Linked DNA regions of Homo sapiens: region 1 is linked to region 2. The links are contacts of gene promoters, found by promoter capture Hi-C in blood cells and fetal thymus (Javierre and others, 2016). All regions are on one chromosome and are shown on one strand. The core of a region is centred on a gene start or on the middle of the fragment in contact, and the rest is flanking DNA. Distances in the headings are between cores, read along the strand shown. Region 1 overlaps GIGYF2 (GRB10 interacting GYF protein 2). Region 2 holds the start of SAG (S-antigen visual arrestin).

Region 1 (5,429 bases), core at 1,503-4,002, 560 kb before region 2:
AGGCCTTGAGGATCTCAAATTCTCTTTTTCCCTCCCTTCCTCCGACTCTCTTTCCAGCTCTCCTTATTCTTCCTTTCTCCTTCCCACTTAACATCTCCTTCCTAGCACCTCTCTCTACCCTGTTGGTGAAAAAGATTAGGAAGAATATTCCTGATAGCAGAAAGGACGTGTGTGAACATAAGGCAAGGAACTGATTTAAGAGAGGAACTTCATGATGCATAATGTTTACCTTTATTATGTGAAGTGTGGGAGATAAGAGCTTGGAGGCAGCCCTTCTGTTAACAAGGCTTGGGTTTTATTGGTCATTGTGTGCCAGTGAAAAAAGAATTGGGGCTGGGCGCAGTGGCTCACCCCTATAATCCCAACACTTTGGGAGACTGAGGCGGGTGGATCACCTGAGGTCAGGAGTTCAAGACCAGCCTGACAAATATGGGGAAACCCCATCTCTACTAAAAATACAAAAATTAGCCAGGTGTGGTGGCGTGTGCCTGTAATCCCAACTACGCAGGAGGCTGAGGCAGGAGAACTGCTTAAACCTGGGAGGTGGAGGTTGCAGTGAGCTGAGCTGAGCTGAGATAGTGCCACTGCACTCCAGCCTGGGTAACAGAGTGAGCCTCTGTCTCAAAAATAAATAAATAAATAAATAGTTCTTAGTAACGTAGGAGATTAAGACTAGTAAAATCGTTCAGGATGCATTTGCAGCAGTCCAGGTGGGAAATAAAAGTGTGAATAAAAATTAGGTTAGTTGGATCAGGGGAAGACTTGAGAGACTGAGGATTTAAAACTAATAGGACATGGTAATTGGGTATGAGAGATGGTAGAAGGTGAGGAGTAAAGTATGAATCCCAGATTTTTAATCCAGTGGCTGATTAGATTGGGATGTCCTTAACTATGTTTGAGAATATGGGCAGTGAATGGGTTGGATGAATAAGTTGATGAGTAGGGTTAGGGTTTTGGGCATATTGAACCTGATGGGCTTTACATGGTTGTGTATGAAAGCCTGACTATAGGAGAGGTCACAGCTGGACTTGAGAATCACAAGCTTACATAGAAGTGCCTTTTGACTCCCACACCTTCACACATTGTTTATTGACTATCCAAATTGCTTTCATAAGCTGAAGTTTGGATTTTGGACAACACTTACCAAGCGAAGATTTTGGGAGTATCATGGGGCTTTGGGGGGCCTGCTGCTGCCACTTATTTACTACCCATGGTAGAATTGGCAGTGTTGAGGTTATTGATGAACAGTGCAGGAGCTAGTGGAGTGGCAGGAGAAACCAGGCACACTGCGTTTTGAAGTGACTGAGAAGCGAGGAAGTAGAGATGTTTCTAGATGAAGAGGAAAGATGAACAGTGCATAGCTAGAAGGGAAATGGCTGTATCAAAAGTTTTAAACAAATGAGGAGATATGTTTAGAGACAGACGAAAGCACATAGGGATTAAATTTCTAGAAGAGAGGGTTGTATGGAGGAGATAAAGATCATATGTGGATTTTTTTAACTTTTAGGTTCGGGGGTACATGTGAAGGTTATGTAGGTAAACTTGTGTCAATGGGGGTTTGTTGTACAGATTATTTCATCACCCAAGTGTTACACCGAGTACCCAGTGGTTTTTCGTGCTCCTCTCCCTCCTCCTGCCTTCCACCCCCAAGTAGACCCCAGTGTCTATCATTCCCTTCTTTGTGTTCATGAGTTCTCAGGTGGATTTTTAGTGAAGAATATTACCCAAATATGTTTTAGCTTTTCTAAGTATCTGCAGGTGAAGAGGGACTTGGAATTGAATTTGTCGATTATTGAATCATAGTACAGCCATTATCCTAACTCAGGCAACTGTCTTTTAGTTTGAGTTACTGCCAGTTTGCCTCAGTTTCTTTTCATAGCACCTGAAGGAAATCTCTGATTGTGTTATTGTGTTATTTTTGTATTTTTTATTTTTTGGAGACAGAGTCTCACTCTCAGCCAAGGTGGAATGCAGTGTTGCGATCATGGCTCACTGCAGCCTCTACCTCCTGAGGCTCAAGCGATCTTCCCACCTCAGCCTTCCAAATAGCTGGGACTACAGGCGTGCACCACCATGCTCTGCTAATTTTTTTTATTTTTGGAGAGACAGGATCTCACTGTGTTGCCTGGACTGGTCTCAAACTCCTGGTCTCAAGTGATCCACCTGCCTCAACCTCCCAAAGTGCTGGGATTACAAGCATGGGCTACTGCACCTGGCCTGTGTTACTCTTAATAAATCTGGTGACTATAAGAAATGTTTAGTCTTGGGCATTGGAAAACCATTGGTGATCCATTGGAAGGGACAGGGTGGTGAATACATTTGAAATCTTATTGTGAGCAGCAATTGAAGAAATTAGGAATGTTAGGCCATGAGAAGGAGTCTTTGGGGAGACATGGTGATTATTTGCCAATACCAGAATGATTTTCATTTGAAAGAGTGCTTAGATGTGTACTCCAGTGGTAGAAACTGTTGGGAAACATGTTGGTTTGGTGTTAAGGAAGATATTTTAAAACAAGTTCTAATAAAATATATGTATATTTTAAACTGGCTATTTTAAATAGGATTTTGAGACCTAATTGTTGGAAAGATTGTGTTTTTTTTTCTTTCTTTCTTTCTTTCTTTTTTTTTTTGAGACAGGGTCTTGCTTTGTCACCTAGGCTGGAGTGCAGTGGCTGTTCACTGCAGCCTTGACCTCCCAGGCTCGAGCAGTCCTCCCACCTCAGCCTCCTGAGTAGCTGGGACCAGAGGCATGAGCCACCATACCTGGCTAATTTTTGTATTTTTTGTCAAGATGGGGTTTCATCGTGTTGCCCAGGCTGGTCTTGAACTCTTGTACTGAAGTGATCCACACTCCTTAGCTTCCCAAGTGTTGGGATTACAAGTGTGAGCTAACCTGCAACCGGTCAATTGTGGTCTTTTTAGTAATAAAAACCTAGGTTTGAATCTTTGTTCTGCTGCCCGTGACTGTGGACAAGTTGTTTAACCCTTCAGCTTTATTTTTATCTGTTATGTTTGGGTTGTTGTGAAGGTTAAATTAGATTAAATGAGCTAGTTCACGTGTGAAATTTTCAGCTTCAGTGTTCAGTGGATATTAATTCCACTTCTTCAGTAAAGAGCCCAACTTTACAGGAATCTAATAAAAAGCAGTTTCTTGGAAGGTACTGGGGTAGTTCCTTTCTTCTTGGAAGGAGTGATTGGACCATTCCTTTGTGGGTATGTTGTTTGCTTACCTGGTTGTTTAACTTGTTTTATGGGGGTTGAACTAAATGACCTCCAAGCCCAAGAATATTTGCAAAGGAAACAGAGTAGCAGTGAGCAGTCCCAGAACCCAGGTTGTGGTATTTCTATAAATGAAAGTGAATCCAGGGCTCCCTGGAAATGATTGATTTCAGGTCTGAGGCAAGAAAAATACAAGATGAACCTGGAACATTCTGACATACCAGATAGAAAAGAAGCTGTTGAAGACTGCTAGGGTCATGTCAAAAGGACCCAGGAGCCAACCTGAAGAGTCTCCCACTCTTCAAAGATGAGACAGTTTGAACACTGTTAATAATTGCTGTGAATTGAAATATATTAATAAAATAATGTGTTACTGTTGGACACTGTTGGAAGGTGCAAGTGAACCTAGTCGTTATTTTGAAAACAAATAAGAATTAAGGCTTTTTCCCTCCTTTCTTGTATTAAGCAGTATTATTTGGTAACTATACCAGGTAGTATAAGAGGAAAATTTATCTTTGCAGAAGTATTCCAGCTAATACATAAGGGAGGAATGAAAGAATATAATCACTTACAACCTTAGTGAACTTAGGGAACCAAGCATTGATCATAAATTACTGCAAGTATCACAAACACGTCATCACAATGTGTGCCTCTTGATGGAATAACATACCACTACATACGAAGTATTGCCAAAAAAGAACCCAAATTGATGAAAATCTCAAAATCTCTATACTCAGTCACCAGTTTACATGAAATGCAAAAGACAGAAAAATGTTTAATTATATCATGGATAAAATCAGCAAAACCCAGACTTTAAAAAAATGTTTTGGGTCAGGCATGGTGGCTCATGCCTGTAATCTCAGCACTTCGAGAGGCCAAGGTGGGAGGATTGCTTGAGGCCCAGAGTTTGAGACTAGGTTGGGCAATATAGTGAGACCCTGTCTCTACAGAAAATACAAAAATTACACGGGAGTTTGTCATCTGCTTTTTGGTGCATTTATGAAAATACAAAAAATTTTCCACAATAAGTAAAAAAAAAAAATCCCACCCCAACAGTCTCACTTTACTAATGCATATTTTTTCTTTAAATATTACTTTATTCTTGTAAACACATTTTACTGTTTACTATGCATACGCTATTTTTAATAATGTGCACATATTTACTGTGTTTTACTTGGCCTTCATATTAATATTTAATGTGTCATAATTTAGTAGATTATTCCCTTCTTTTTTGCTTTGTGAATAAAGCTTAGCAGTTTTGGGCACATATTTCAATGCTTCTATTGAATTTTTCCTTAGTCTAAACTAGAATTAAAGTAGCTTGGTCCCTTTCATGCTTGATATCAGCTACTCCTGATGTTAGTTTTTCCACTTGCTGTCTGACACAGTGCTACAGTAGAATCTTACTCGCCATTTTTTGCTGAAGTTTTCTTCCCTTTTTCCCCATAAAAATATATTATTTTAAAATTAAACAAAATAGTCCCTTTTCCCCAAGTTCTGTTCTTTAGAGGCAACTTTTCTTATCAGTTTGGAGTATATTTTTTATTTGTCTTCTTAGCAGTACATGTAGTTTTCAATTTCTCTTTGTACTTTACTGCATTTTCAGATTCTCTACACTGACCATTAATTGCTTTTATTAAAAACGTTGTGAAATATTTCAGGCATATAAAAATATAAATTGTGATAAACACCCATGTATTCATTGGCAAGCTACAAAAATAAAACATTGTAGGTACAATTAAAGCTGCCTTTATAATCTTAATCTTTTGCAGATATAACCTTATTCTAAATGTTGTATTTGTCAATTTCATGTTTGTTTCTATGCTTTTGCTGCAGTTTGTATGTCTTGAAACAGTATAAACCTAGCTGCAGGTTTATGCATTTTATATAAAAATTATCATTACTATAGGCTGTGTTTTGATTTTTCTTTTGTATAGCATACTTTATTAAATATTTTAGCTATTACCAAATTGCCAAATAGATAATTAAATAATTAGCTATTATCAAATCATTCTTTGAAGTGATTATTTCAGTTTATAATACCACAAACACTACTTGAAAGTTTCCATTGTTTTACATCCTTACCAACACCTGGTATTATCAGACTTATTAAGTTTTATGAATCTAGTGAGTGTAAGGTAGTATCTCACTTTTGTTTTAATCATATGCGCCTTTTAAAATTTGGAAAAATGTGTCCCTTTTTCATTCTC
Region 2 (5,847 bases), core at 1,306-3,805:
TGTGGCTGACACCACCAGCAATGCTAAGATTGACCATGGCATCTGCCGTGCACCTTGTGATGACACCATGATCCGTGTGGCATCACTTCACTCCTACAGTCATTTTCCCAGCAACTCTTCACCTAATGGTTTTAGCACCAATGAATAATCTTTGTGTTTTAAAATAGGGGGTTTGCAGTTCAGGTATGGTGAGGCCAACCATAGAGTATGCTAAGGATAGGGTGACATTGAAGTAAAGACTCAAAGCCATTGAAGGAGTGAGCCATGTGGCTGGCTGTGGGAAGACTGTTCCAGGAGAGGAAATAGCAAGTGGAAAGGCCTAGACGGAGGTTTAAAGAAAAGCAGGCCAGTGGTGGTGGCTCACGTCTGTAACCCCAACACTTTAGAAGGTTGAGGTGAGAGGATCAGTTGAGGTTGGGAGTTCGAGACCAGCCTGAGCAACATAGCAAGACCCCATCTCTACAAAAAGGTTAAAGAATTAGCTGGGTGTGGTGGCATGTGCCTGTAGTCCTAGCTACTCGGGAGGCTTAAGTGGGAGGAGCGCTTGAGCCCAGGAGTTCAAAGCTGCAGTGAGCTATGATTGCACCACTGCACTCCAGCCTGGGTGACAGAGCGAGACCCTGTCTCTAAAAGAAAAGAAAACAGGCTCAGTACTCTGGAGTGAAGTGGGCAAGGGAGAGGGTGGTGAGAAATAAAGTCAGAGGTAAAGGGGGGCCAGAGCATGCCGGACCTGGCAAGCATTGTCCAGACTTAAATGGGAAGCCATTGGAATGTTTGGGTGGATGCTGATACCCCAAACGTCAGAACAGGCTTTCTGCATATACTTGTTTCATTCCCAAGTCAGTCCCCCATGTAAGTGTGTTAGTGGTCGCAGAGTCCCCTCCATCCATTCCCTGAGTGTTCTTGGGAGCAGGCATTGTTCTGGGCACTGTGAAGACAAAAGTGAAGGAAACAAAATGGCCTAGGCCCTGCCCTCATGGAGCCTGGACTCCAGTGAGGGAAGAGAGACTGTAGAATAATTCCCAAGCAAGAGTGAAATGTGGCCAGGCACGGTAGCTCATGCCTATAATCCCAGCACTTCAGGAGGCCAGGAGTTTGACACCAACCTGGCCAACATGACGAAACCCCATCTCTATTAAAAATACAAAAATTAGCTGGGCATGCTGGTGCACAACTGTAATCCCAGCTACTCGGGAGGCTGAGACAGGAGAATCGCTTGCACCCAGGAGGTGGAGGCTGCAGTGAGCCGAGATCGCGCCACTGCACTCCAGCCCAGGCAACAGAGTGAGACTCTATCTCGAAAGCAAAAAAAAAAAAGAGTGAAATGCAAGCGTGCCTCCAATCTGGTCCTGGAGGTTGGGGATAGCTCCCCTGAGGAAGTGACTCCTGGTCAAAAATCTGAAAGGCCAAGAAGAGTCAACAAAGTGGAGAGAGGAGAGGCTTGTTCCAGGCAGAAATAATAGTGGGAAGGAGGAAGCGTGGCAGACGGCGTGGAAGGAAAGGCAGGCAGAGGTTCCAGAGGCTGCAAGCTTTTTGCCTGCATTCTAAGAGCAATGGGTGATTGTAAGCGAGGGATGACAGGGCTCAGAAGGTCTCTCTGCCTCTGTGTGGAAAAGGGCTTGGAGGGTAGAAATAAATGTGGTCGGCTGGGTGCGGTGACTCATTCCTGGAATCCCAGCACTTTGGGAGGCCGAGGCAGGTGGATCACCTGAGGTCAGGAGTTCGAGACCAGCCTGGCCAACATAGTAAAACCCTGTCTCTACTAAAAATACAAAATTAGCTCAGTGTGGTGGTAGGCGCCTGTAGTCCCAGCTACTCTGGAGGCTGAGGCAAGAGAATCACTTGAACCTGGGAGGCAGAAGTTTCAGCAAGCTGAGACTGCACCACTGCACTTCAGCCTGGGAGGCAGAAGTTTCAGCAAGCTGAGACTGCACCACTGCACTTCAGCCTGGGAGACAGAGCAAGACTCCATCTCAAAACAAAAAACAAAACAAAAAAAAGAAAAGAAATAGATGTAGTCAGACAGTGGGGAATCACTCCGGTCCTGAGAAGCAAAGGCGGTGCTGGGGATGGGAGGATGCAGACAGGTTCCAGAGACACTGAGGGGATCAACAGGACTCCTGAAGCCATCAATCAGTAGGACCGGGTGGAGGAGAGGGACAGATCCAGCTTGGCTTGCATAACACCAGGTTCATCTTGAGGTTGACATTTCTCCTTGACCTTTTTGTTTAGTCCCCACCCGCAAGGTCGCATTAGCTGCCTGCTGAGTTTAATCAAATCTCTTCCTGTCCTGGCAATGCCCGGGAATGAAGAGATAATCAGTCTATTTCCAGAATCCAAAGAGGTTTAGAAGAAAAAGTAGCTTTCATTTAGCTGTTGGCCCTCCCACCAACCTTCCCCAAGTCAGCTGGGTGACTCATACATCTGTGAGACCCTCCGTATGGAGACCGGGGCGGGGGGTGTTGCTTAATGCTTAGAACTGCTGAAACTACCAGTTCACTGTCTCAGCACTAATCCAACTCTGCTCCTTAAGTGGGATTTGGCTTTTAGACATTGAGACCTGGATGCTGGGCATCCTCGCTAGATCCCCTACAAATTCCCCACATACGTAGGCCAGGAGCCTCAGCGGTGCCCCTTCAGGCTCATCTGGCAAGACGGTACCAGCTTGCTCAGAACAGGGGCTGGCTATTCATCATCTCAGAGCATAGAGACCCTCTCCTTGCCACCCGGCCCTTCCCACCTGGTTGGTGACAAATCACAAGGTATGTGACCACCACAGGCCAAAACCTTATCAGAAACCTGGGGCAGGTGTGGGGAAGAGCAAGGATGGGCGTTTTCCTGCAGACAGTATGTCCCGCCTTCACCTTTTCTGTGTGGTTTCCATAAGACTTGGTTGCTATTTAAGGAGACTTGGAGTGAGCGGGTGCAATGGCTCATGCCTATAGTCCCAGTGACTCAGGAGGCTGAGGCTGGAGGATCACTTGAAGCCAGGAATTCGAGACCAACTTGAGCAATACAGTCAGACCCAGTCTCTACAAAAAAACAAAAATAAAAATAAATTAGCTAGGCATGGTGTCACACACCTGTAGTCCTGGCTACTCAGCTGGCTGAGGCAGGAGGATCACGAGCCCAGGAGTTCGAGGCTGCGGTGAGCTATGATTGTGGCACTGCCCTCCAGCCTGGGCAACAGAACGAGCTCCTATATCTTAAAAAAAAAAAAAACCTCAGAGTATGCTTAATTCTAGACCGCTAAGATGGCCTCTTAATTGTAAAACAGAGTGGCTATCTCTTAGTAGGAATTGCCAAATAGAACTTTTGGGATTTTAATATATTCTTTTTTTTTAAAAAAAGTGATAGGATCTTGCTATGTTGCCCAGGCCAGTCTCCAACTCCTGGTTTCAAATGATCCTCTCGCTTCAGCCTCCCAGAATGTTGAGATGACAGGTGTGAGCCACAGTGCCCGGCCATTAATATCTTCTTGAAAACAGTCTTTGCGAAGTGGTTATGTTGTGGTTTTCAGGAACTTTTCTGATTTATTCGCCATTAGACACAGTCACGATAGAACTTTAAATTCAACCTGGCTAAGTGTGATAACACCAAAGGTTAGTCAGAAAGTAAAACCTCATTGGAATCTAGCTAGACTCCCTGGCAAGGTGTACTGAGAAATGTTTGAAGCTTACCAAGAAAAATAAAATATTGAAAACACCCCAAAGCATGCTGCAGTAAAATACAAACTAAGCAAAGACTCACCGATGAAACTCGGATGTTGAAGCCGGTACAAGGGCATGGTGAGGACGCACAGGATCTCGTGAGTAGGTTTCATAACTAGGATGTTCTTGACTTGATATTTAGGATTGTCTTACCTTTCTCCAACCCTCTAACACCTGACCAACACCCCAAGGTGGTAGAAGTTGCCAGGGACAGATAACATGGCAGCCAGCGGGAAGACCAGCAAGTCCGAACCGAACCATGTTATCTTCAAGAAGATCTCCCGGGACAAATCGGTGAGTGGTGCACAAGTGAGTGATTTGATAGAAATTATTGTTTAAAAAAAATGGAGCTTTTTCAAGTACAGTGTAGTCATGATCAACATCAAAACTCTTTGAGGGCCAGGGCGCGGTGGCTCATGCCTGTAATCCCAGCACTTTGGGAGGCGGAGGCGGGATAACTTGAGGCCAGGAGTTCGAGACCAGCCTGGCCAACATGGCAAAACCCATCTCTACTAAAAATACAAAAATTAGCTGGGTATGGTGGCAGGCACCTGTAATCCCAGACTTGGGAGGCTGAGGCACAAGAATCACTTGAACCCAGGAGGTACAGGTTGCAGTGAGCCCAGATGGTGCCACTGCACTCTAGCCTGGGTAGCAGAGGGAGACTCTGTCTCAAATAAAAAACAAACAAACACTGTGAGGGCCAGGGAAGCTTTGTGTCTATTTTTGTCTCTGTCTAAGATGGATGATCACTGAGCTATAAATGAGTGAATGAACTGCAGAAATAGAGCTTCTCTTCAGTCTCATCAAGACTTTAGTCCTGTGTCCCTCAGTTTTCTCCGAATCCCTCAATCCCCACACTGTCACCCCCACCTCTGCATCTTTTCCTAGCCAGCCTTGAACCCTTGACTTACTATTTAAACACAGTTTTGTCAGTACCTGTGATGCCCTTGGCCTTTTGTCTATCTATTGTGTCACCTGCCTGGGTAAAACCCAGACAGTGATCAATGTGACTCCTTCTTCTCCGTGCACCTACCCCACCCGGGGGGTCTCAAGCCTCAGCTGGGCCCGCAGGGCCATTGGATAAGGGAAAATGCCCCAGTCTGCCCCCTTTCCACCACTCTCCAGGGGCACGTTAGATGCTCCAGGTGTGCCCATGAACTTCCTCGCATGGGAGAGGGTCCACCGTCCAGCCTCTGTGGATAGCTCCACTCGAAAGCTTCTTGTGGGCCAAAAATCTAGCTCAGCAACATCTAGTGCAAGCCACATATGTAATTTTAAATTTTCTAGTAGCCACATTTAAAAAGTAAGAAGAAACAGGTGAAATTCATTTTGATGTTATATTTTATTTCAGCCCACTATATCCAAAAAACTATCAGTTCAACTTGTAAATAATAATATAAGAATTATTGAAATCTGATGTGTATTTTATGTTTACAGAACATGTCAATTTGGAATGGCCATATTTCAGGTGTCCGGGAGCCACCTTAAGCAGTGGCTACCCTACTGGACAGGGTAGCTCGCCATCATTCTGGCTTTTTTTTTTTTTTTTTTTTTGAGACAGAGTCTCACTCTGTCACCGAGGCTGGAGTGCAGTGGCGTGATCTCAGCTCACTGCAACCTCTGCCTCCCAGGTTCAAGCAATTCTGCCTCGGCCTCCCTAGTAGCTGGGACTACAGGCATGTGCCACCGCGCCCAGCTAATTTTTGTATTTTTAGTAGAGACAGGGTTTCACCATGTTGGCCAAGCTGGTCTCGAACTCCTGACCTCAGGTGATCCGCCCATCTTGGCCTCCCCAAGTGCTGAGATTACAGGTGTGAGCCACCGCACCTGGCCCATTGTGGCTGACTTCTGAACCCGGTATGGGGTCCAAAGAACCTCCCCATCCTTACCGTGCCACCCAGGAGATCCGGCTTTGCCTGTGTGCTTTCTGCCTTCTCCTCTCCTAGTTAAGGAACTCGGTCATTTTAATCAAGTACTCTGATTCTTTCGTTCTCCAAGCCCTTTCCCAAGTTGTATCTTTCCAGTCCATTTTATCTCAACTTCTGGCTGAAGAGGAAACCACTCGTGTTGGTTTCCCACGTTGTTTTCCCCTTGCTCCTAGATTTTCCACCAAGAAATGTAGATGGTTTTTGTA

Evidence for each region. The method cuts DNA at HindIII sites, captures the fragments that hold promoters and counts their contacts. A CHiCAGO score of 5 or more calls a contact.
Region 1: a fragment that was not itself captured here is called in contact with the fragment with the promoter of SAG in region 2 in 4 of 17 cell types (total CD4 T cells, non-activated CD4 T cells, naive CD8 T cells and 1 more); the score reaches 7.0 in total CD4 T cells.

What each region holds. Positions count from the first base shown.
Region 1 is chr2:232,741,928-232,747,356 of GRCh38, forward strand. All of the region lies in intron 3 of GIGYF2 (GRB10 interacting GYF protein 2), which reads left to right. Among named protein-coding and RNA genes, the nearest start is that of KCNJ13, 32 kb to the right of the region's middle. The HindIII fragment of the contact is 3,425 bases long and covers 1,041-4,465 here.
Region 2 is chr2:233,305,261-233,311,107 of GRCh38, forward strand. SAG (S-antigen visual arrestin) reads left to right here and starts at 2,556. Exons shown (of 16, transcript NM_000541.5): 1 at 2,556-2,762; 2 at 3,902-4,004. The coding sequence starts at 3,930. The HindIII fragment of the contact is 2,146 bases long and covers 1,528-3,673 here.